7 separate regions of the Homo sapiens genome follow, and all the other regions are linked to region 1. The links are contacts of gene promoters, found by promoter capture Hi-C in blood cells and fetal thymus (Javierre and others, 2016). All regions are on one chromosome and are shown on one strand. Each heading gives the region's core, a stretch centred on a gene start or on the middle of the fragment in contact. The rest is flanking DNA. Distances are from core to core; before and after follow the strand shown. Region 1 holds the start of SEC13 (SEC13 homolog, nuclear pore and COPII component). Region 2 overlaps CIDEC (cell death inducing DFFA like effector c). Region 3 holds the start of JAGN1 (jagunal vesicle mediated transporter 1). Region 4 holds the start of IL17RC (interleukin 17 receptor C). Region 5 has its middle 60 kb from the start of LINC00606. Region 6 holds the start of CRELD1 (CRELD disulfide isomerase 1). Region 7 overlaps EMC3 (ER membrane protein complex subunit 3).

Region 1 (3,182 bases), core at 399-2,898:
GAGAAGAGAAAGCACTTGCCAAAGTCACAGAGCTAGTTCAAGGCAGACCTGGGAAAAGAGCCCCATCCCCTAACCTTCTAATGCTGAGTCCACAAAACTTCACTCCACCAGGCTGCCTGTCTAGAATGTAAAGCAGTTGTTACACTGAGTTCTGTAAAGCTGCGGTTAAGTAGGTTCACGAAGAAAGTTTACTGAGAGGTAGTTTCAACCAGGTTACCAAAGGACCTTAGAAATAATCAGCATTTAATTCTAACCACTCTCACCCACCAGTCAGGGTTGATGAACCACACTTCTGAATGAGAGAGAGAGAGAGAGAGAGAGAGAGAGAGAGAAGGCGGGGGGGGGGGGGGGGGAGGAAAGAGGGAGGGGGAGAGAAAAGGACGGAAGGAAGGAGGAAGGGCGGGAGAGAAAGGGAGAGGGAGAGGAAGGGGGGAGGAAGAGGGAGCGGGGAGAGAGAGAGAGAAGAGAGGGAGGGGGAGAGAGAGAAAGGGAGAGGGAGAGGAAGGGGGGAGGGAGAGGGAGTGGGGAGAGAGGGAGGGTGGGGAGAGAGAGAGAGAGAGAGAGAACTTCTTAGAGTACTTCTTCCCAGGGACCTGGTATTATCTGGTCCCTGTTAACACCTGCACTCAAAATAATTCACCTCTTTGAGATCAGATAATGAGTTAAAAATTCATTTAGGATGAGCTGAATGTCAGAGCATAAAAGCCTCAACTCTAACCTGCAGTGGAAGAGCCAGAGGTGAGTGATTTACACCTAACCCTCTGCAGAACAAGAACACAGTGTTCTGATTTCTAGGTTCCTGCAGGTTCCCTCAAACCTGCTGCTGAGACACACCCATGTTTCTAAAAGAATGCATGTACTAGATATTCCAGGCTCAGCCCAGATACTTCCATTCTTTAGTTCTCCTTCAGTCATTCATTCACTCAAGGAGTAAGTGTGGAGTGAATGTACACTGCAGATGCCACAGAGACTTAAAAAACCCTGAGCCCCTGCCTTCGGAGGGTCGTTCAGGCCATCTTTACGTTTCCCGAGGTGCCCATCCTACCTGGGGGCCCTACCCCGAGCAACAGTTCAATCATCTCTGCTGGGAGCTGCAGTAGGCGGCAGAAAGGAATGGTTAGGAGGGTTCAAATCTCGGCTCTACTACCACTTAAGCAGCTGTGCAAGAGGCTCCACGTCTCCGAACCTCAAGTGTCCTCATCTGTAAAGTGTTGAGAAGAATAGCACCTTCTTCACAAGGCTGTTAGCAGGCGGAGATTACGAACAATGCTGAGGGCTCGGTATACAGTAGCTCCTCTGCTGTTCCTCGTTTTGTTTTCAATTGTTGACCGAAAAGAAGGAAGGGAGACTGGCAGGAGACGCAGGAGCGGCGCGCCCCGCAAAGTCAGGGAGGTTCCTCGGCCTCACCTCTGGACTCCCCTCGGAATGGTCCGCAAGGACGGGGCCAGAGCCCCCCAAATCTCTAAGCGGTGGAGGGGAGCTGAACGGCTCCAGCTTGGGATTTGGGACTCAGGACGGCCGAGGAACCCGTGAAGGCCGCGACCGTGGCCTTCACCCTGCTAGGCCTCCTCAGTACCAACACTCACCATGATTGCGGCGGTGGCTGCTCCAGGTCTCGGACGTGGCAGCTCCCGGCGGCGCCTCGGAACAGCTCACTTCCGGCGCCGGGCCCGACGGGCCGTGGCGTAGGAGCCTCCGGGCAGCAACGCGCTCGGCTCGCACAGCAGTTCCGCGCCTTCCAGAGGGCGCGCCCCGCCCTCCCGTGGCCCAGCCCCTATCCTCCAGTGACGTGCGAGACCAGAGGGCTGGGGCTCTGGTTGCCGCAGTTACCCTGACCCGGAGGGCTTTGGAATCTGAAGCTCTGGTGGGTCTACTCTCCCGACCAAGTCTGCCCTTTTCCTGAGATCCATAAATGAAAGAAAGGATTAATATAACTATCGGCCGGGCGCGGTGGCTCATGCCTGTAATCCCAGAACTTTGGGAGGCTGAGCTGGGGGGTGGATCACCTGAGGTCAGGAGTTCGAGACCAGCCTGGCCAACATGGTGAAACCCCGTCTCTACCAAAAATACAAAAATTAGCCGGGCATAGTGGCGCGCGCCTGTAGTCCCAGCTACAGGCTGAGGCAGGAGAATCGCTGGAACCCGGGAGGTGGAGGTTACAGTGAGCCGTGACTGCACCATTGCACTCCAGCCTGGGCAACAGAGAGACACTCTTGTAAAAAAGAAAAAAATCTATCTATCTATCTATCTATCTATCTATCTATCTATCTATCTATCTATCATCTATCTATCTGCAGCTTCACCCGCCTCACTACGGCTCTGGGTGCGACTGGTCTTATGATGAATGTTGTAGGATGAGTGACATCTTAGGAGTAAGTAGACTGTCCTAGTGCTTCCTTGTTGTAGTCTCCCTCTCAGTACCCAAGGACTGGGACCAGGGCAGAGGAGGCCAGGGAATGCCCCTCGCCAGAGGCTGGGACCTCTGGCCCTGCCATCCCTAACCCCTATATAGGACTGCCCCTTCCAAACCGATCCCCTGGGGTCCTGAGTAAGTCCCATCAAGGAGACCCCCCTAGGCAATGAAGGATCTCAGCCAGGCTCCTGCAGCTAGAGCCCCAGACCTAATCCTCAGGGTCCCCAACCCCAGGTCTCTGGCTTCACAAGGTAGGGCAGCTGAAGGCTCCCCACAAGCGCAGTGAGAATGCCACACTGGAGGACAGAGCCTGGGCTCCCCGCCTCAGCCACATATGGTCTAGCCCTGGGCCCCTTGTGACATTAAGGAGGCAGATGAGCTGGGGGAGGCCTTGGCTCCCCTTGGGCAAGTCACAGTCCTTCAGTTTCCTCTGCTGAAACTGGGAGTAAGGACCCTAGCTGGAGATGGTCACTGCTTGAAGGAAGATGTTAAGGCTCAGAGAATGTGATAGACCCAAACTGTCAAGGAGCTTTGGAGGGGAGGCCAGGGGAGTAGGGTGTTAGAATTAAGGGCCAGGCCTCTGGGCAACTCTTCTACCCCACTGCAGCTTTCAAGATTTTTTATTGCCCTCTAGTGGAGAAATTGTTGCAGGGGTGTGAGGGGGTGGTGGTTAGGTTAGAGCAGGGAACAAAGGCAGGTTTCAGGGGATCTCTTGGATCTCCTGTTGTTTTTTTTGTTTTTTTTTTTTTGGAGATGGACTCTAGCTCTG
Region 2 (3,182 bases), core at 409-2,908, 450 kb before region 1:
TTATCTAGTGTAGAGACAGGGTCTGGCTATGTTGCCCAGGCTGCTCTTGAACTCCTGGCCTCAAGCGATACTCCTGCCTCAGCCTCCCAAAGTGCCGGGATATCCGGCATGAGCCACTGCACCTGGCCAAGTTTTTAAATCTTTCAGTCACAGACTAAATAAAACAGTCACCTACAAGTTCTACAAGTTCAGCCTTTTTTTTTTTTTTTTGAGATGGAGTCTCGCTCTGTCACCCAGGCTGTAGTGCAGTGGCACGATCTTGGCTTACCACAACCTCTGCCTCCCAGGTTCAAGCGATTCTACTGCCTCAGCCTCCCAAACAGCTGGGAGTACAGGCGCCTGCCATGCTGGCCAGCTAATTTTTTTGTTTTTAATAGAAACCGGGTTTCACCATGTTGGTCAGGCTGGTCTTGAACTCCTGACCTCAGGTAATCTGCCTGGCTCGGCCTCCCAAAGTGCTGGGATTACGGCGTGAGCCACCATGCCCAGCCTAAGTTCAGCCTTTCATGCTTGTCTTGAGTTGTCCAATACTGGAAAATGCCAGCTCACACTGATGAGAAGCTCCTACTCTTTGGGGCTACCTATGAGCCCACTTTGAAATCCCGAGGTTGAAAGTCCTGAACATGAAAGATAAGCTGTCTGGCAAGTTAGGATGGGCATTGATGGAGAAATGCCTTACAGCTTGAGTAGTACTTTTTCACCTAACCACTTAAACGGTTATTATAAAATGGGACACTGAGAAATTAGAAGAGTGACTTAATCCCACCTGCTCAATTGAAGCTCCTCTGATAGGTGAATTTAATTAGGAAATTGTTACTTATGGTATCAATTACATGGTCAGCTCAAGCCTCAAATTCAGCTGACTTTAGTTTCAAAATCAACTGCAATTTTGTTTTTTAAGGAGCCTGGGGTCTTGCTATTGTGCTCCAGCCTGGCCTTGAACTCCTGGTCTCAAGGGATGCTTCCACCCCAGCTTGCTGAGTATCTGGGACTGCAGGCACGTGTCACTGTGCCCAGCTGTTTTTTTTTTTCTTCTTTGGTAGAAAAAGTGCCATTAGCTGTAATCCTACATTAAAGAGAATACTTTGACAATAGATTCGTCTCTTCCTTTAGCCCCCTCCAACCTTCCAGATAAAACCCCACCCCAAAGAACACAGGCAAAGAAGATACATCAGCCTCAATAATTTATTGCAAACTCCCTAATATCACATGCTAGTGCGCTTGCGAATTCACTCAGGAATGTTCCGGGATGGGGGCCAGAAGGTAGAGAGCACCATGAAAGTACAGCCTGCGAGGCCAGATTGCTAAGGGGCAGACTTCATGCCAATGGAGGGACAGACTTCAGGACCAGTCTGGATGGGCTAAGCTGCCTTGGGCAGGAAGGAGCTGGATCAGGCCAGGAGCTTGAGGTTCTCCTTTGGCCAACCCACCCCAGGTTTCCAGCTCCTCCTCCTCACTCAGGGTCCTGCGCGGTGAGGGAGGTGTGGGGAGGTTCGCGGCTCTACAGCTGCCAGGCTTGTGGGCACTACCAGTTAAGCGTGAGGCCCCCAGTCAGTCCTTCACTGGGGAAAGCTTCCAAGGACTTGGGCTTTCACTGCAGTATCTTCAGACAGGTCGGGATAAGGGATGAGGCCTTGCCCTTGGGGGGCTGCCCTTCCTCCGTAGCATCGAGGAGCTGCTGCAGGTAACAGGAGGTGCCAAGCAGTACGTGGCCTGTGGCCTGCATGCTGAAGAGGGCCCAGCGGAAAGCTTCCCTGGGTGGAATGAGAGGGCACGCAAGTCAAAACCACGAAGTAGGTCGGGCATGGCGTTCACGCCTGTAATCCTAGCACTTTGGGAGGCCATGGAGGGCGGGTAACCTGAGGTCAGGAGTTTGAGACTAGCATGGCCAACATGGCGAATCTCTGTCTCTACTAAAAATACAAAAACTAGGCAGGCATAGTGGTGGGTGACTGTAATCCCAGTTACTCCAGAGCCTGAGGCAGGAGAATCGCTTGAACCCAGGAGGCGGAGGTCACAGTGAGCCGAGGTGGCACCACTGCACTCCAGCCTGGGTGACAGAGCAAGATTCAGTCTCAAAAAACAATCAAACAAAAAACACAAGGCTGGGCTTGGTGGCTCATGCCTGTAATCCTATAACTTTAGGTGGCCGAGGTGGGTGGATCATTTGAGGTCAGGAGTTTGAGACCAGCCTGGCCAACATGGCGAAACCCCGTCTCTACTAAAAAATACAAAAAATTAGCCGGGCGTGGTGGCAGACACCTGTAATCTCAGCTACTCGGGAAGCTGAGGCACGAAAATCACTTGAACCTGGGAGACAGAGGTTGTAGTGAGCTGAGATTGTGCCACTGCACTCCAGCCTGGGTGACAGAGTGAGTCTCTGTCTCAAAAATAAATAAATACATAATAAATAAAAACAAGAGTGTACCCCCTCCCTGCACCCCCTTATTCCCATGCTGGCCTGGAAGGGATTGGTTTCATTATGTTTGTTTTCTTCATTAATAACATTTGAATACCACTGAGGTGGTAGCACTAAAAGCATTTCATCAATTCTAGAGCGATGTGCAAATAGGAACAGATGCTGCAGATGGGATCAAGATTAGTGCGAGGACCTGCAATTCCACCTTAACTGAGATGCCCGGAACCTCCCTACTTTCTCATGCAAAACCCCAGCTCATTTCATAAGGCTTTTATTTTTCTACTACTACTTTGGACCAACCAGATTAATCTCCATAACATGGTTCTGCACCTTGAGACACTCTGTTCTAGACTCTGAGGCCTGTCCAAGCCACCTGCAGTCTAGCTCATGTTCAGAGTGCTGGACATGAAGACATCCATGCCTGGCATGAGCATGTACTGAGAACAGAACCTGAATCAGGCAGGCCTAAGTCCTAATCCAGTCTTATTAGCTGGGTGAACTTCAGCAAACTGCTCTAGCTTTGAGCTTCAGCTTCCTCATGGGTAAAATGGGATTGCACCTGCCACCCAGGGTCATAAGGCTGAAATAGCATAAAGCAATTAACATGGGGTTGGATGTTTGGAAAGTAGGGGAAATGGGGAAGCGGGAGCGGGTTCTAACCTCACATATTCTCATGCTTCTTGAGACATTTGGTTAGACTTTCAAAAATAAGTTTTAAGAAAAGTTCATTATATAGTACAAATGACTCTGGTCCATAAGACTT
Region 3 (3,182 bases), core at 448-2,947, 430 kb before region 1:
CCTCCCAAAGTGCTGAGATTACAGGCTTGAGGCACTGTGCCCCCACCTAGACCTATCTTTTAAAAATGCAAAACTGTGTCATTTTCCTGGTTAAACCTTTTAGTGGTTCCCCAAACCCCCTGGGATAAAGACTTAACTCTTTACTGAACCCTCCAAATGCTCCAGTCACTCTTAAGTTTCTCAGTTCTTTGAAGAGCCAAGTGCTCTCTGGATTTGGGGCCTTCACACATGCTGTTCCCTCTGCCTGAAAAGCTCTTCCGCTCCCCACCTCTTTAGCCAATTCCCACTCAGGCTTCAGACCTCAGCTCAATTGCTGCCACTCCAGAGAGACTTTCCTAACCCTCCAGGTCAGGGAGAGAGGCCTCATTTTTCCTCCCTCAGCCTCCTGTGTTTTCTTGAATTTCTTAGCTTCATGGGTACAAGTTCTTCCCCCGACTGGGCTGGGATCCCTCAGGGGAAATGGACCATGTTTATTTCTGCGTCCCCAGGTCATAGCAGAGCATCCTGGTGCATGGAAGATGCTCACTATACATGCTTTTTTCTTTCTTTTTTTCTTTATTCGGATAATATAACTTCTTTCTTTAAAGTTTCGCTTAGTATTTTGTTGTGGTAAAATGCACATAACATAAAACTTACTATGTTAATCATTTTTAAGTGTACAGTTTCCGTGGCATTAAGCACACACATATAGTTGTGCAATCAGTACCACCATCCATCTCCAGAACTTTTTTCATCTTCCCGAACTGAAGCTCTGTACCCATTAAACACTAGCTCCCCATTCTCTGTCCACCCCTCGAGCTTCTGGCAATGGTCATTCTACTTTGTCTCTACAGATAAAGTTTATTTGGAAATAATTTTTCTTTCATGGCCTTGACATTTTTGAAGAGTACAGTCCAGCTCTCTTCTAGACTGTCCCTCCGTCTGGATTTATGTCATTTCTTCATGATTAGATTCAGTTAGGTATTTTTGGCAGAAACATCATAGAAGTGATGCTGTGTCCTCAGTCTATTAAAAGAGGCACAAGATATCAGTTTATCTCATTATTGATCAAATTAACTGACTATATGTTTAAGGGAGACAAGCCAGATTTCCTCACTGAGAGATTCCCTGTTTCTCTTTGCAATAATTAAATGTGAGAAACTTATTTTGAGACAAAGTCTCACTCTGCACTCTGTCCCCCAGGCTGGAGTGCATTGGCACAATCTCGACTTACTGCAACCTCTGCCTCCCTGGTTCAAGCGATTCTCCTGCCTCAGCCACCCAAGTAGCTGGGGTCACAGGAACCCACCACACCTGGCTAATTTTTGTATTTTTAGTAGAGACGGGATTTCACCATGTTGCCCAGGCTGGTCTTGAACTCCTGACATCAAGTGATCCACCCACCTCGGCCTCCCAAAGTGCTGGGATTAAAGGTGTGAGGCTGTGTGAATGATGTGTGCTCCAGGGAAAGTCATAGAATATATCAGTTTCCCCCTCTGTAAAGTGTGGACAGAAGTATCCTAACTGATATTACAGCTTAAGAAAGTAAAAGTGTTCAAGCGGCCTCTGGGCGCCAGCAAAAGAGGCTGGGGATTAATTTCCTGCGCGCTCCACAAGAGGCGGGGCTGGGCGGGGCGGGGGCGAGAGGGAACGAGGGCGCCTGCGCGGAGAGGAGTGACCATAGAGTCGGTCCTCCAGAGACAGAGGGGCCGGAAGTTCTCTTCACGGAGCCGCGCGGCTGCGGGGGCGCAAATAGGGTCAGTGGGCCGCTTGGCGGTGTCGTTGCGGTACCAGGTCCGCGTGAGGGGTTCGGGGGTTCTGGGCAGGCACAATGGCGTCTCGAGCAGGCCCGCGAGCGGCCGGCACCGACGGCAGCGACTTTCAGCACCGGGAGCGCGTCGCCATGCACTACCAGATGAGGTATGAAGTGAGGCGAGGAGCACGGAGGCTTTCTCCCCCGCTGGAGCCTGCGGGGCTTGGGGAGCGACGCCGGCCCGGCCTCAGGGTCTTGCTCCCCAGCCAGCCCCCGCTCACCTGCCAAGTCCCCTCCTCCCGTGACGGCTTCGGGCCTGTCCCCCATCCTGGAAAGCCCCGTGGCCCCCGCGAGCTCCACCCCTTGTTCCGCCCGGTGCCTTGAGGGGATCCAGCCCCGCGTGGGCTCCCGCCCTGCGTGGGCTCCCGAGTCACGTCGATGCTGGCCCCGCTGTATCACCTTCGAAACCGAATTTCTAATTTGAGCCTCAGCTTCCTCATCTGTAGAGGGAGAGAATAATCTGCCTTTTAGGTTTTGGTGAAAGATTAATCAGTAATTCGTGTAAAGAAAGTAGCATAAGGCCTACCACGTAATATATGGTAGGTGTTATATTTTGGGCCGTTTGGGGGGATATAGACAGTAAAAGGCAGCCTTTCCTAAGGACGCCTTGCCTAAAATGAATTTTATAAACACTCCCACGTAAGGGGTATTTCTACATTCAATTACTAGTTCGACAAATACTGAGCTTCCAAACATCATACACTGCTAGACACTAGGTTATAATAGTGAGCAAAAGCAGACGTGGTCTTTGTATACATGTTATACCTTCAATAAACAATTTTATTAAAGAAAAAAAAAACTGTTCCCTGCCTTCATGGAGCTTGAAGTCTAGAGATGACTGTTTTTTTTTTCCAACCTTTCCACATTTTCTACAATAAATATTTTTAAATAAAAATTTTAAAATTTTTACTTCCTTAAATCCATTGATCTCTCCCAGAATGTTCTTCACATCTCTCTCTCCAGAGTTTTAAAGAATGACAAGCTCTTTGAACTCTCATTTGTTTCACATCTCTAGGCCCCGGCTGAAAGGGCCCTCACAACTTAAGCAGGTGTTTTCATGCCAGCCCAGAGTAGAAACATTGCCTTTAGGGATATGAGGAGGATACGTTTGGGACGTGAGAGAATTAGAAGAATAAGATAAGTATGTACTTCTTTTGGATGAAAAAATCTAGCTGGAGAAGTATGGGCGGCCTGAGTACGTTTCCTCTCTGCCAATACCTTCTCCCGCCAGACTTTAATCCTATGGTGCAGTCAGCGTCCTCTTGCTAAACACAGCTCTGAGCTACCCTTCTGCCTTTATTATTATTATTAATTTATTTATTTATTTTTGAGACGGAGTCACGGTCTGTCGCCCAGGCTGGAGTGCAGTGGCGCGATCTCAGCTCACTTG
Region 4 (3,182 bases), core at 1-2,500, 400 kb before region 1:
GCAACGGACACTGGCTGGAACCCCGGAATGAGCCTTCGACCCTGAAATCCTTGGGGTGCCTCGAGGACGACTGGCCGAAAAGCCGCATTCCCTGCCTCACAGGCCGGAAGTCCCAGCCCAGTCCCCGCGCGCGTCCCTCTTCCTCCTCATACTTTCCCTTGACTGAGAGCTCCTCTAACCCCTGTTCTGATGGGGGAGGGCGGTCTTCCCACTTCCTCTCCAGAACTCCAGAAAGAGCAGTGTGCTTATGCTTCAGTCCAGGCTGGAGAGGTTGGGGCCGGGGTAGGGAGGCAGGAGCCATGTCAGTTCTGAAGGAGGGTGAGGCGGTGGGGGATTGCAGGGGGCGGCTGAGAGAAAACCTCCTTGGGGGCCAGGGATTCCCTTTCCCACTCTGAGGCTCTGGCCAGAGGGAGAGAGGACTCTGGACCTAGGAAAAGAGGCTTTTGGCTCCAGGTGGTCAGGACAGTGGGGGTTGGGGGTGGGGTGGGTGGGTGCTGGCGGTGGGGACCAAGATCCGGAAAGATGAATAAAGACAAACATGACAAACTAAGAAAACACAGTGTGCTTCTCTAGTGTGGCTGGGGAGCCTGCCTGGTGGGGTATGTGTCAGTGTGCTGGCCCAAATCCTCTGTGTCCATACCGCATGGCATCCGTCACATTCTTACAAGCAATGCCTCCAAAAGCAAAGGAGGATGGGGCAATCTCCTTGATCCCCCCCAGTGATTCTTACAAGAGGAGAGGAAAACAGAGGCTTCGCCAGATGGTGTGTCCATCATCACACAGCCGGCCCACAGCAACAGCACAGATGGGACCCCTGTCTGCCAGGCTCTGGGGTCCTGGGTTCCTTCTACTCCCCATACCGCATTTGAGCCAGGCAGTGGTGAAAAGCCCACTTTCTGGTGCCTTTTGTCCGTGCTTTTAGAGCTCCTGTCCCACAAAGGGTTACCGAGGCCCAAAGAGTGTCTGAAGGGACCGAGTGTGCCTAGTAAGGGGAGACTTAGTGGGCCCAGGACTCCAGGGCTGTGTCCTCCTTAGGGCTCCGGGGGTGAGTAAGAGCTCCCTTACTCAGCCGTGATGCATTCGCTGTCTTCTTCAGGGGCCCCTCCCAGCCAGGTGTCAGCAGAGGGAGAGGAGAGCCAAAGAAGGAGGAGGTGCGGCCACCACCCTAGTCCAAGGCTGCTGGCTCCCAAGCCTGGTGTTGGTGGGAGGGACAGAGAGGGGCGGGAACAGCCAGCAGCCTGCCGGGAGCCAAAACGAAAGCACTCCGTGCTGGAAGTAGGAGGAGAGTCAGGACTCCCAGGACAGAGAGTGCACAAACTACCCAGCACAGCCCCCTCCGCCCCCTCTGGAGGCTGAAGAGGGATTCCAGCCCCTGCCACCCACAGACACGGGCTGACTGGGGTGTCTGCCCCCCTTGGGGGGGGGCAGCACAGGGCCTCAGGCCTGGGTGCCACCTGGCACCTAGAAGATGCCTGTGCCCTGGTTCTTGCTGTCCTTGGCACTGGGCCGAAGCCCAGTGGTCCTTTCTCTGGAGAGGCTTGTGGGGCCTCAGGACGCTACCCACTGCTCTCCGGTGAGTCTGGAACCCTGGGGAGACGAGGAAAGGCTCAGGGTTCAGTTTTTGGCTCAGCAAAGCCTTAGCCTGGCTCCTGTCACTGCTGCCACTGCCAGAACTGCCCTGTCTGGTCTGTCTGGTGCTGATGGTAGAAGAGAAGAACGGGGAAGGGGCAAGAGCTGGGTCTGTCTTTCTCTGGGAGGGTCTGGGAATACGGAGCCCCAGAAAAAGGTAGGTGGAGGTCTTAGGCAGAGAACAGTGCCTAGATGGTGGGGGCACAAATTCTGACTCTCCTTTCTTTCCTTCCCAGGGCCTCTCCTGCCGCCTCTGGGGTAAGTATCCCTACTTTTAAAAAGAATTTCCCAGGTTGGCCGAAGGGAGCAGAGCTGTCCCAGGCCCATGCCCTCCATGCCCACCTCAGCCTAGGACAGCCAAGTTCTTTGGCTCTCTGGGTATGTCAGGTGCCACCAAATTCTGGGCTTGGAACAGCTTCAGCTCCCACCCGCTCCTCCACACACAGACAGTGACATACTCTGCCTGCCTGGGGACATCGTGCCTGCTCCGGGCCCCGTGCTGGCGCCTACGCACCTGCAGACAGAGCTGGTGCTGAGGTGCCAGAAGGAGACCGACTGTGACCTCTGTCTGCGTGTGGCTGTCCACTTGGCCGTGCATGGTGAGCAAGTCATCCTGTGACAGTGCATGTGTACACGTGAGTGTGTCTGGGGTGGGCATGAGGGCCAGGGGATCTCTCAAGCAGTGCTAGGCATCCTCAGTGTTCTCCTGGAGGACACCAGCAGAAGGACCCCCAGGCCAGTGTGGTCTCCCCAGCCCCTGCTTCCCAGCACTGGGCTTTCCAGAAGGAAGCCAACGCCAAAGCCAGCCAGCCCAGAGCAGGGGGCCTCACCCAGGGCCTTGCTCTTGGGTCCTTCTAGGGCACTGGGAAGAGCCTGAAGATGAGGAAAAGTTTGGAGGAGCAGCTGACTCAGGGGTGGAGGAGCCTAGGAATGGTGAGGAGAACCTGGCTGGCCCAACTGCCCCATGCCAAGGCCTGGCCTGCCGCTCCTGGGCCTGACTGACCCCTGCCCTGTTGCCCACAGCCTCTCTCCAGGCCCAAGTCGTGCTCTCCTTCCAGGCCTACCCTACTGCCCGCTGCGTCCTGCTGGAGGTGCAAGTGCCTGCTGCCCTTGTGCAGTTTGGTCAGTCTGTGGTATGCAAAATAATAATAATCACCTTCTAAACCTAAAATCTATAAAACTTTTTCACATGCATTATCTCTTTGAGGATTACAAAAGAATTAAATTTATTGAAACCCTTCAGTACCAGGCATTACAGCCAGTGTTTTACAGGTATCAACTTATTTAATTCTCACAACAGCCATGTGAGGTGGGACTATTCTTTTGATTCTGATCAGCGCTGTGGGCAAGTCCCTTCAGCCTGTTATGCCTCAGCTTTTATGTCTGTAAAATGGGGATGAGAATAGTTCTACTTCATATGCTTGACTGCGAGAAATCACCAAGCGTTTTTCAGGGTGCTTCTACTATTTTCCCCTCCTACCAGCAGTGTATGGGAGTCCTAGTTGCTTCCCATCTTTGCCAACACTTGATGGTGTAATTTTATTTTATTTTTA
Region 5 (3,182 bases), core at 445-2,944, 380 kb after region 1:
ATAGTAACACTAATAGCTGACATCCGAAAGTGCTTACCGCGTGTGCCAGGCACTATTCTGAGACTTTGACTTGTCTTAGTCCTTGTCATTCTCCCAAAAGTACTCATGAGGCAGGCACTCTTAGGATCGCTTTTATAGATGAGGAAACTGAGACAGACAGAGCTGAAGCCACTTACCCAAGATCACAGCGACACAATTAGAAAGCACTGACTCGTTCCCAGGCAGAATGGTATAGAGAGGATGGAGCATCGCACAGGTGCAGCTCATTGCTGATGTTTGTCTTTGCACACGGACACACTAAAAGGACCTGTTCAGCCTTTCCAGGTTCATCTGCTTGCACGGTCATTCACTTGGGCTCTGCCCAGCACAATCTTTGGTCATTTTCCTAAGTCCCACTTTTTATTTTTAAATAAGGAACCGGGTCATTACATCTCCCCAGAATCCTGCCTAGATGTTATGTTACAGTGTCACAGTATTTATAGCACCTGAGCTGCTGCTGGAAAAAACAGGGAGGCATTTTCTGTCCCTGTCATATTCATTCTCCTAAGACCAATGGATATTCCCTTTACTCTGTAATGAGATTAGCGGAGGCTTGTGCATTCCCCCACTCCCATCATTCCTTTTCTCTGTAATTTAGGTCTGCTTCCTATTTCTCGGGTCACAGAGCCCTCTGGAAGCCTGATGGAAGCTATGCAGCCCCTCTCCTTATGGCCCTGTGAAATGCCCAGCCTTACAGACGGTTATATATGAGGGAAGAAAGGCGGTCACAGGCTTTAGCACGAACATCCCCAGTCCTCCGTCATTCTTCAAAGGTCTCTCCCCTGGAGACAATCCTCAGCGGCTCACTCCAGCCTTTGCCCGCCCCTTTCCTGGCTCCACCCTCAGGAGGCGGGGTGTCTTCTCTTATTGGTCAACATGGGAAGAGGGATGGGCTACAATCAGCGTCTCTGCCCTTTCTCCTCCTGGGAGGGAGTCCTGCGCGCAGAAAGCTTGTCCTGGCTGTGCCCTCTGTACCTGAGTGAAGCCTACCTGGGCAGGACCTCCACATGGTCTTCCTTCTAGGGAATCAGTTAGTAGGCCCCCATTTGACCCTCACCCTCACATGAAGCCAGGACCTCCAACTTTGCTTCTATTCTATTAGGGAGAAAATTTATATTCGGCTCCTCTACCTGCCACTCATTTGTTCCTCAAATTGTTGGAGGAGTGTGGAAGAGAGATGCTATTTATGGGGCCCACTCCCACACCATCCCAACATCTGCCATTTCCTAGAACTCCGGATCAGCACACACCTTTTAGCCCGCACAGCCATTCTACTTGAGTGATTCTGGCTGGGCAGTTTATGGAAATCTCTTCGAGTCTCAGTTTCCTCATCTGTCAAATGGGGATTGTAATAACCATGTTTTCTAGCTTCTGCATTTGATGCTTTGACATCTGGGGCCTTGCTAACCCTGGAGGGGCTGTCCCTCCCAGAGAGAGCCAATTACTTGACATAGTGAATGACTGGCCCATGAGGGCCCCTTTCATAAATGCTCAGCCCATCTTCCCAACCGCTTCCTTTATGGAACCCCTGCCCACTGGGCCACACTGCCCTGCCCTAGTCACCCGGGGGCAGGTACCATACTACTAGGAACAGCCACTGTGTCCCAGAGCCTGCTGAAACTATTCAAAGTAGCCAACCCCGAGCCTGCTTACCCTGCCTCACCCATCCCTCCCTGTGGAGGCCACAGTAAAGGCTCTTACCCCATCTTCCCCTCACTCCCTCTGCCTCCTGACTGACCCTAGGGCTTCCCCATGTGGCCCTGTGTGGCATAGCATGTCCTCGCCTCTTAGGAATCTCAAGTAAAATTCTTTTTAGAGGCCATCATTTCCTGAGTGGTTGGCCTCGCCATAACTGAATAATAATAAAACCTATATTTTAAAATGATGATAATATCACCTACGTCTTAGGACTGCCATGAAAATAGATACACATGGAAAAGCATCTCACATAGCAAGTGGCATATGGCAGGGGCTTAAAACCATGCTAGTTTCTCTTCTCTCTGCCCTATCCATAGCTCTTCTCTTCTTTCTACCTTTTTCTTCACCCACCTCTTCCCTGCTGTCTCCTTCCAAGTATCAGCTACCTAATTTGTGGGACCCAGTACAAAATAAAAACGTGTAGCCCCCTGTTCAAAAACTGCTAAGAATTGCAATACGGTGACTGCAGAGCATTAAATCTAGCGGGAAAGCCCTTCTTAGCACAGGCCACACATCCACAAAGCTGGCCCTGCTCCCTCCTCCTTCCCGTCCAATTCTCTTCTGCTTCCCAAATATTTCTAGCCTGATTTTTCAATCCCAAGGCCCCAATAGTTAGCTCCCTTTTTTGGGTTCAGTTAGCAGATTCTAATTTTTAGATACCATAAAGCTTCAATAATTCCACTTAATTGGAGAGGGTGGAAAGGAGGCCAGTTTGAATTAATGAAAAGTCTGAGAAATAAGACATTACTAAAGAAATGCAGTTTTATTACTCTGCAACAGATTTATATGACAACAGGGGAGATACAAAGAAGATGGAAGGGAGGAGGAAGTTAGAGTTTCTTGTATGCAATTTAACACAAAGAAAAGATTTAATTTATAATAAGCATATTCTCTTATTTGCAAATTATGCTACTAAAAATCCTCTCCCTTAAGTAGGTTAATATTTCTCTTGCTGGCAATCAGTTTGCTTAGTGAAACTGTTCTGCTGTTACAAATGCTAGCAAAATTCTTCTGCAGTGATTCCATATAACAAAAAGATTTCCATGACCTTTCAGGCAGTCCATAGTATGGACTGGGTTATAGCAAATTCTTATCAAGAGAAATCCTGCACAACAAATTCTCTCTTTGCTCTCTACCTACAGAACAGTCAAATCTTCCAAACATCCTTCTAAAATTCAGAACTTACCATGTCCCATAGCACCAGGCTTAGACTTAATCTCTGCTGACTCCTGCTGTTTCAGACCTAACTCTTGTCCTGTTGCCATTGGATCTGGACCTATTGTGGGGGTGGTATTCCTAAATAGATCGTATACCCCTACACCTCCAAGCCCTAGCAACCTGGACCTGTAATGTCCTCCCCACAGTCTGTCAAAGTCATAACTCATGTTTCAAGGTCCAGGTTACAGGTTTCCTGCTCCAGAAAGCTGCCTCTGATTTTTCCAGGC
Region 6 (3,182 bases), core at 683-3,182, 390 kb before region 1:
CACCAGGTAGTTGCAGACACCCAGGACAGCAAGATCAAGGGCCCAGCAACCCTAGCTTAGGGGAGAAAAACAGCTGACATTTTAGCACTTAAGATGCTCGGCATTGTGTTAAGTATGTATTAACACATTGTGTTAAGCTTTATATGTATTAATATATTTAGTCCTCACACCAACCCTATGACACAGGTACAACTTTACAGAGGAGAAAACTGAGGCAGAGGGTGACATTACTTATTCAAAGACCCCTAAACAGATGGAGCTATATTCATCCACTGGCTCTGACACTGTGCTGTGGACTCTGGGCAAATCATTTCTTCGTTTTTTGTTTTGTTTTGTTTTGTTTTGAGAGGAGTCTCACCCTGTCGCCCAGGCTGGAGTGCAATGGCGCGATCTCGGCTCACTGCAACCTCTGCCTCCCGAGTTCAAGCGATTCTCTTGCCTCAGCCTCCCGAGTAGCTGGGATTACAGGCGTGTGCCACCACGCCCGGCTAATTTTTTGTATTTTTAGTAGAGACGGGGTTTCACCGTGTTAGCCAGGATGGTCTTGATGTCCTGACCTCGTGATCTGCCCGCCTCGGCCTCCCGAAGTGCTGGGATTATATAAAGGCATGAGCCACCGCACCCGGCCCAATTCATTTCTGTTAAGTCTCAGTTTTTCTTCTCTGTGGAGGGTAAGTTTCTAACTCTTCTTCTCTGGGTCTCCCAGACATCCACAAGCGCTGGGCCCTCGTGTGGCTGGCCTGCCTACTCTTTGCCGCTGCGCTTTCCCTCATCCTCCTTCTCAAAAAGGATCACGCGAAAGGTGAGCGCTTCCCGGCTCCCCATTCCCCTGGGGGAGGACCAGAGTGGCTGTGGGAGTTCTCCGAGGGAAAGCGGCGGCCGAGCTCACTGGCTGCCTCCGCCCCTCTCCCCTAACAGGGTGGCTGAGGCTCTTGAAACAGGACGTCCGCTCGGGGGGTGAGTGGGAGCAAGCGCTGGGCGGAGGGCCGCCCCCGGGGAGCCAGGCCTGTGCCAGCTCACCTCTTCCCTCCCCATCTGTTTTCTCCGGCAGCGGCCGCCAGGGGCCGCGCGGCTCTGCTCCTCTACTCAGCCGATGACTCGGGTTTCGAGCGCCTGGTGGGCGCCCTGGCGTCGGCCCTGTGCCAGCTGCCGCTGCGCGTGGCCGTAGACCTGTGGAGCCGTCGTGAACTGAGCGCGCAGGGGCCCGTGGCTTGGTTTCACGCGCAGCGGCGCCAGACCCTGCAGGAGGGCGGCGTGGTGGTCTTGCTCTTCTCTCCCGGTGCGGTGGCGCTGTGCAGCGAGTGGCTACAGGATGGGGTGTCCGGGCCCGGGGCGCACGGCCCGCACGACGCCTTCCGCGCCTCGCTCAGCTGCGTGCTGCCCGACTTCTTGCAGGGCCGGGCGCCCGGCAGCTACGTGGGGGCCTGCTTCGACAGGCTGCTCCACCCGGACGCCGTACCCGCCCTTTTCCGCACCGTGCCCGTCTTCACACTGCCCTCCCAACTGCCAGACTTCCTGGGGGCCCTGCAGCAGCCTCGCGCCCCGCGTTCCGGGCGGCTCCAAGAGAGAGCGGAGCAAGTGTCCCGGGCCCTTCAGCCAGCCCTGGATAGCTACTTCCATCCCCCGGGGACTCCCGCGCCGGGACGCGGGGTGGGACCAGGCGCGGGACCTGGGGCGGGGGACGGGACTTAAATAAAGGCAGACGCTGTTTTTCTACCCATGTGGCCCACACGCGTCTCCGTTTCAGTGGCGGGGCTGGCAAACGTCATTCCCTAGCCCCGCGGCCCTTTAAAGCCCGGACAGGTGCAGCTCGGTGCCGCCTCTGGTTGGCTGGCGTGGGGTGACGTAATGGCACATGGCCCGTCGCCATTGGCTGGGCGGCAAGCTCCGCCCCCTGGACTGCGGCGCGGGTGGGGGTTGTGCGTTTTACGCAGGCTGTGGCAGCGACGCGGTGAGGAGACGGCCCACGGCGCCCGCGGGCTGGGGCGGTCGCTTCTTCCTTCTCCGTGGCCTACGAGGGTCTGGATCCTTCTCTGCCGGCTCGTGGGCCGTGCCTTTGCCCTTCTGCGAGGCCCTGAATCTGATCCCTTCCCTTCATATCCGGATCCGGGCTCCTCCCTCCAAGCCCGGGGTTCCGGACACCTCCCCCAAGACAACCCCTCTGGCCTCCTCTCCTTCAGTACTTGGAATCTGATCTCTTCTCCCTAATTCTGCGGATCCGGCCCCTAATATTCTTTATCAGACCCTCAGACAAGAGGCTGACTTCTGCCCCCTTGTCAAGGAGCGAGGCCACTTTCCTCTCCACCCCATGCTAGCGAGGATAACTTATTTCTCTTCTGGAATTGCATCTTATGCGCCTTTCCCCACCCATCCCCACAGCCCCTGCAATACCCAGTTTGGCCTCTTTTGCTTGTAATAACGCAGATCCCAGCGCCACGGCACCTTAGAACAGACCTTTTTCTTTCTCGCGTGGGGCCTGACTCCTTCAGTGAAGCCTCTCCACGCCCTCTATCTGCAGGTCCCCAGCCTGGGTAAAGATGGCCCCATGGCCCCCGAAGGGCCTAGTCCCAGCTATGCTCTGGGGCCTCAGCCTCTTCCTCAACCTCCCAGGACCTATCTGGCTCCAGCCCTCTCCACCTCCCCAGTCTTCTCCCCCGCCTCAGCCCCATCCGTGTCATACCTGCCGGGGACTGGTTGACAGCTTTAACAAGGTGGGTGCACCGGCAGCCTCGTTAGAGGGGAACACAGCGATTTAGAGTGGGGAACTCTGGGATGCAAATCTGCGTGGATTTAAGTTTCATCTTGGTCTCTTACTAGTTGTATGGCCCTAGGCAGGTTGCCTTTCTGTGCCTCAGTTTCCTAGTCAGTAGAACAGTGAAGTGCTAGCATGTGCCAGGCACTGTACTTAGCTATTACTAATTTTCTGTTTCCAGGGCCTGGAGAGAACCATCCGGGACAACTTTGGAGGTGGAAACACTGCCTGGGAGGAAGAGAATTTGTCCAAATACAAAGACAGGTAAGGGGCTGCTGGGGGAAGGGGTGTATATTCCCCTCCCCGCCAAATCTCTGCTCTGCTGGTGTAGGGCTAGGAACTCTTGGGGAGCACTTATTCATTCAACAAATAGCACTGAACATCTATAGTATAGCAGTAAACAAGGCAAGCAAAATGCCCCCTTCCTGGA
Region 7 (3,182 bases), core at 377-2,876, 340 kb before region 1:
TTAGCCGGGTGTGGTGGCCTGTGCCTGTAATCCCAGCTACTCAGGAGGCTGAGGTAGGAGAATCACTTGAACCAGGAAGGTAGGGGGTTGCAGTGAGCCGAGACGACGCCATTGCACTCCAGCCTGGGGTGGGACTCCATCTCAAAAAAACAACAACAACAAAAAACAAACAAACAAACAAAAAAACTGTGCTTGGCTTCCTGTCTCTACTCAATACAAACCACTTGTTTTAAACAGTCAGTACCCCGGGGTTTCCCCTGTCACACTACACATATTCTAGTTTCTCCACATGCTGGGAATGTTCCAGTGCCCTTTCCTTTCCGAGTTCTACTCCATCATGCCTTAACATCTTCAAGTCTCAGCATCTCCACGAAGCTTTTCCCAATGCCTGGAGCCCTCGTGGAATTCTCTCTGCTTCCTCCTCCTGAGCTCATTATGCTATACAGTTCTCTACTTTATCTACAGGGCGCAACATGTAATACATTCTGCTCCCTGGATGCTAGTCTAAAGATACTCAAAGTGTGGTGAATGCTAGTCTGTGATAAGCACAGACACTGAGAGTAAGGATTTAGAGACTTTTATAATAATTTGACATTGTCACAACATCCAGATACATGATCAAAATATTTTACAAAAGTATTAGCCTATAAGAGATTAGAAATTTAAAAAACAAAAAACCCCAAAACTGGTCCTTCACCATTGACAGTATAAGAAGCACTGGGTCTAGAGTAATGGGTAAAAACTTAAGCTCTGGAGTTGAACACATGGGTTCAATCCCACCTCTGCCACTTATTAGCCATGTGATCTTGAGCAAGTCACTTAAATTCCCTAAGTCTCTATTCATATTCTGTACAAGGGTAGATTTATTCTTTCATTGAACAAATATTTCTTGAACTTCTAAGTGCCAGGTGACATGAAGAACGGTGATCAAAATACAAATATCTTACGATGGTCAAAGTCTAGTGAGGGGGAAAGACATTAACCAAATAACCAGAGGAATAAATGTGAAATTCAATTATCATGTCCTAGAGAGAGATGGATGGTATTGCAAGAGTGCATAACCAGGAGGTGATGGAGTCTGGAAAGTCAAGGTCTGAGAGTTTGCTGAGGATGTAGGATTAAGCTGGACTCTTCAGGATGAGTGAGGATTACCTTGGCAAAGTGCTGGTGTAAACAAAATGGGCAAAAGCCTCGTAGAAGTAAACACTCTGCCTCTGAGGACCTGAGAAAAGGCCACATGACTGGAAAAAGGAGAACTATAGAAAATGTGATGAAAACAAGACTTGAGAGGTGTGCAAGAGCCAGACTATACAAAATCATGTGGTCTCACTGTATTTTTTTTTTTTTTTTTGAGATGGAATCTCACTCTGTCTCCCAGGCTGAACTGCAATGGCGCAATCCCAGCTCAGTGCAACCTCTGCCTCACGAGTTCAAGCAATTCTCCCGCCTCAGCCTTCAGAGTAGCTGGGGTTACAGGCGCGCACCACCATGCCCAGCTAATTTTTGTATTTTTAGTAGAGATGGGGTTTCACCATGTTGGCCAGGCTGGTCTCGAATTCCTGACATCAGATGATCCGCCTGCCTCAGCCTCTCAAAGTGCTGGGATTACAGGCATGAAAAACCATGCCCAGCCAGGTCCCACTGTATTTTGATCACTGTCTTAAGAGCAAAAGGAAACTAATGAAGGATTTTTTTTTTTTTTTGAGACAGGGTCTTACTCTGTTGTCCAGGCTGGAGTGCAGTGGTACAATCTTGGCTCATGGCAACCTTGACCTCTGGAGCTCAAGTGATCCTCCCATCTTAGTCTCCCGAGTAGCTAGGACTACAGGCACACACCATGACACCTGGCAAACTTTTGTGTTTTGTTTTTTTTGTTTTTTTTTTTTTTGTAGAGACAGGGTCTCACTATGCTGCCCAGGCTGGTCTCTAACTCCTGGACTCTAGTGATCCACTTGCCTCAGCCTCCCAAAGTGCTGGGATTACAGGCGTGAGCCACCACACCCAGCCAAGTGGAGAATTTTAGGCTGAGTTCTTCACATATATGATCTTATATGACTGTACCTGGCACATCCTAAGCACTAGATTAATAGTATCTGTTATTTTTTCCTTTGCATATTTTATTACTTGAACAGAAACTCTGAGAGCAGGGTCGTGACCTTGTCTTACACTGTACCCCACAGCATGCAGCAGAGTGCAAGGCACATGATAGGCCATCAAAAGGCCATTGTTCACAGCCAGGCGTGGTGGCTCTCGCCTGTAATCTCAATACTTTGGGAGGCTGAGGTGGGAGGATTGCTTGAGCCCTGGAGCCCTGGAGTTCAAGAACAGCCTAGTCAACATAATGAGACCACTGTCTCCACAAAAAAATTTAAACATTAGCCAGGTGCAGTGGCGTGTGCCTGTAGTCCCAGCTACTCGGGAGGCTGTGGGAGGATCACTTGAGCCCGGGAGATCGAGGCTGAAGTGAGCCATGATCGCACCACTGCGATCGCAGCCTCAATCACTGCAGCCTCAACCTCTTTAGTCCAGCCTGGGTGACAAAGCAAGACCCTGTCCCCAGAAAAACAAACGAAAAAACACTTGTCCAGTCTACGATAACTCAAGACTTTCCCAGGCAGTGTAATCAAGAGAAATTCATCTAAATCTCCTACAATTACACTGCTGAACAATTTTGTAAAAATGAAGTTGAGTATTGTGACCCTGAGGTATTTCAAGACCTAAATAAGCAATCTTAAATTATCCTGTATTTTCTAACACTCACTTTCTTAAGCTGAGATCCATAGCTGTGTTCTCTGAAGTTTGCAAATTCTAAAAGAAATTTTTAATTTTGTATTTTTATTTTCATGAATATCTAAAAATAAGTCTCTGTACTGTTATAAAGCTTTGTAATTTGCAACTGAAGGACATCTTTTATTTATTTATTTATTTATTTTTTGCAGAGACAGGGTCTTACCATGCTGCCAAGGTTGGTCTCAAATTCCTGGGCTCAAGGGATCCTCCCATCTCAGCCCCCCAAAGTGCTGGGATTATAGGTGTGAGCCATTGCACCAGGCCTGAAAGATATTTTCTTGGAATAAAACTTTAAAGTCAGTACTTCTCAAACCAGAGTTCCAAATTCTTAAGAATCAGTGTTTCTTCCTTTCCAAAATGTCAGTAGTATATTTGTCAAGTCTGAGAACCAT

The links. Contacts are between HindIII fragments. The CHiCAGO score rates a contact against its expected background, and 5 or more counts as called.
Region 2: a contact is called between a fragment that was not itself captured here and the fragment with the promoter of SEC13 in region 1, in 1 of 17 cell types (activated CD4 T cells). The highest score is 6.3, in activated CD4 T cells.
Region 3: the fragment with the promoter of JAGN1 here is called in contact with the fragment with the promoter of SEC13 in region 1 in 4 of 17 cell types (activated CD4 T cells, total CD4 T cells, monocytes and 1 more); the score reaches 5.4 in activated CD4 T cells.
Region 4: a contact is called between the fragment with the promoter of IL17RC here and the fragment with the promoter of SEC13 in region 1, in 3 of 17 cell types (non-activated CD4 T cells, activated CD4 T cells and total CD4 T cells). The highest score is 6.2, in non-activated CD4 T cells.
Region 5: a contact is called between a fragment that was not itself captured here and the fragment with the promoter of SEC13 in region 1, in 2 of 17 cell types (M2 macrophages and endothelial precursors). The highest score is 5.5, in M2 macrophages.
Region 6: a contact is called between the fragment with the promoter of CRELD1 here and the fragment with the promoter of SEC13 in region 1, in 15 of 17 cell types (fetal thymus, endothelial precursors, total CD8 T cells and 12 more). The highest score is 9.8, in fetal thymus.
Region 7: a fragment that was not itself captured here is called in contact with the fragment with the promoter of SEC13 in region 1 in 2 of 17 cell types (fetal thymus and activated CD4 T cells); the score reaches 6.8 in fetal thymus.

Annotation. Positions count from the first base shown.
Region 1 is chr3:10,319,464-10,322,645 of GRCh38, forward strand. SEC13 (SEC13 homolog, nuclear pore and COPII component) reads right to left here and starts at 1,649. Exons shown (of 9, transcript NM_183352.3): 1 at 1,587-1,649. The coding sequence starts at 1,589. RefSeq lists enhancers at 1,315-1,614, 1,362-1,957 and a silencer at 1,805-1,884. The HindIII fragment of the contact is 12,357 bases long and covers 1-3,182 here.
Region 2 is chr3:9,865,543-9,868,724 of GRCh38, forward strand. It overlaps CIDEC (cell death inducing DFFA like effector c), which reads right to left. Exons shown (of 7, transcript NM_001321142.2): 7 at 1,172-1,754. The coding sequence ends at 1,592. Among named protein-coding and RNA genes, the nearest start is that of CIDEC, 13 kb to the right of the region's middle. The HindIII fragment of the contact is 177 bases long and covers 1,571-1,747 here.
Region 3 is chr3:9,888,913-9,892,094 of GRCh38, forward strand. JAGN1 (jagunal vesicle mediated transporter 1) reads left to right here and starts at 1,698. Exons shown (of 2, transcript NM_032492.4): 1 at 1,698-1,899. The coding sequence starts at 1,811. The HindIII fragment of the contact is 18,772 bases long and covers 1-3,182 here.
Region 4 is chr3:9,915,848-9,919,029 of GRCh38, forward strand. IL17RC (interleukin 17 receptor C) reads left to right here and starts at 1,251. Exons shown (of 19, transcript NM_153460.4): 1 at 1,251-1,573; 2 at 1,866-1,887; 3 at 2,076-2,228; 4 at 2,488-2,562; 5 at 2,653-2,762. The coding sequence starts at 1,469. IL17RE (interleukin 17 receptor E) reads left to right here. Exons shown (of 16, transcript NM_153480.2): 16 at 1-550. RefSeq lists enhancers at 504-1,043, 973-1,162. The HindIII fragment of the contact is 19,830 bases long and covers 1-3,182 here.
Region 5 is chr3:10,702,304-10,705,485 of GRCh38, forward strand. It overlaps a transcript of ATP2B2 not described here. Among named protein-coding and RNA genes, the nearest start is that of LINC00606, 60 kb to the right of the region's middle. The HindIII fragment of the contact is 1,415 bases long and covers 988-2,402 here.
Region 6 is chr3:9,931,902-9,935,083 of GRCh38, forward strand. It overlaps CRELD1 (CRELD disulfide isomerase 1), which reads left to right and starts at 1,933. Exons shown (of 11, transcript NM_001077415.3): 1 at 1,933-2,019; 2 at 2,519-2,711; 3 at 2,934-3,016. The coding sequence starts at 2,538. It overlaps IL17RC (interleukin 17 receptor C), which reads left to right. Exons shown (of 19, transcript NM_153460.4): 17 at 707-802; 18 at 919-957; 19 at 1,052-1,720. The coding sequence ends at 1,692. RefSeq lists silencers at 905-964, 1,545-1,874 and an enhancer at 1,975-2,344. The HindIII fragment of the contact is 19,312 bases long and covers 136-3,182 here.
Region 7 is chr3:9,978,681-9,981,862 of GRCh38, forward strand. All of the region lies in intron 1 of EMC3 (ER membrane protein complex subunit 3), which reads right to left. Among named protein-coding and RNA genes, the nearest start is that of EMC3, 6.6 kb to the right of the region's middle. The HindIII fragment of the contact is 2,506 bases long and covers 374-2,879 here.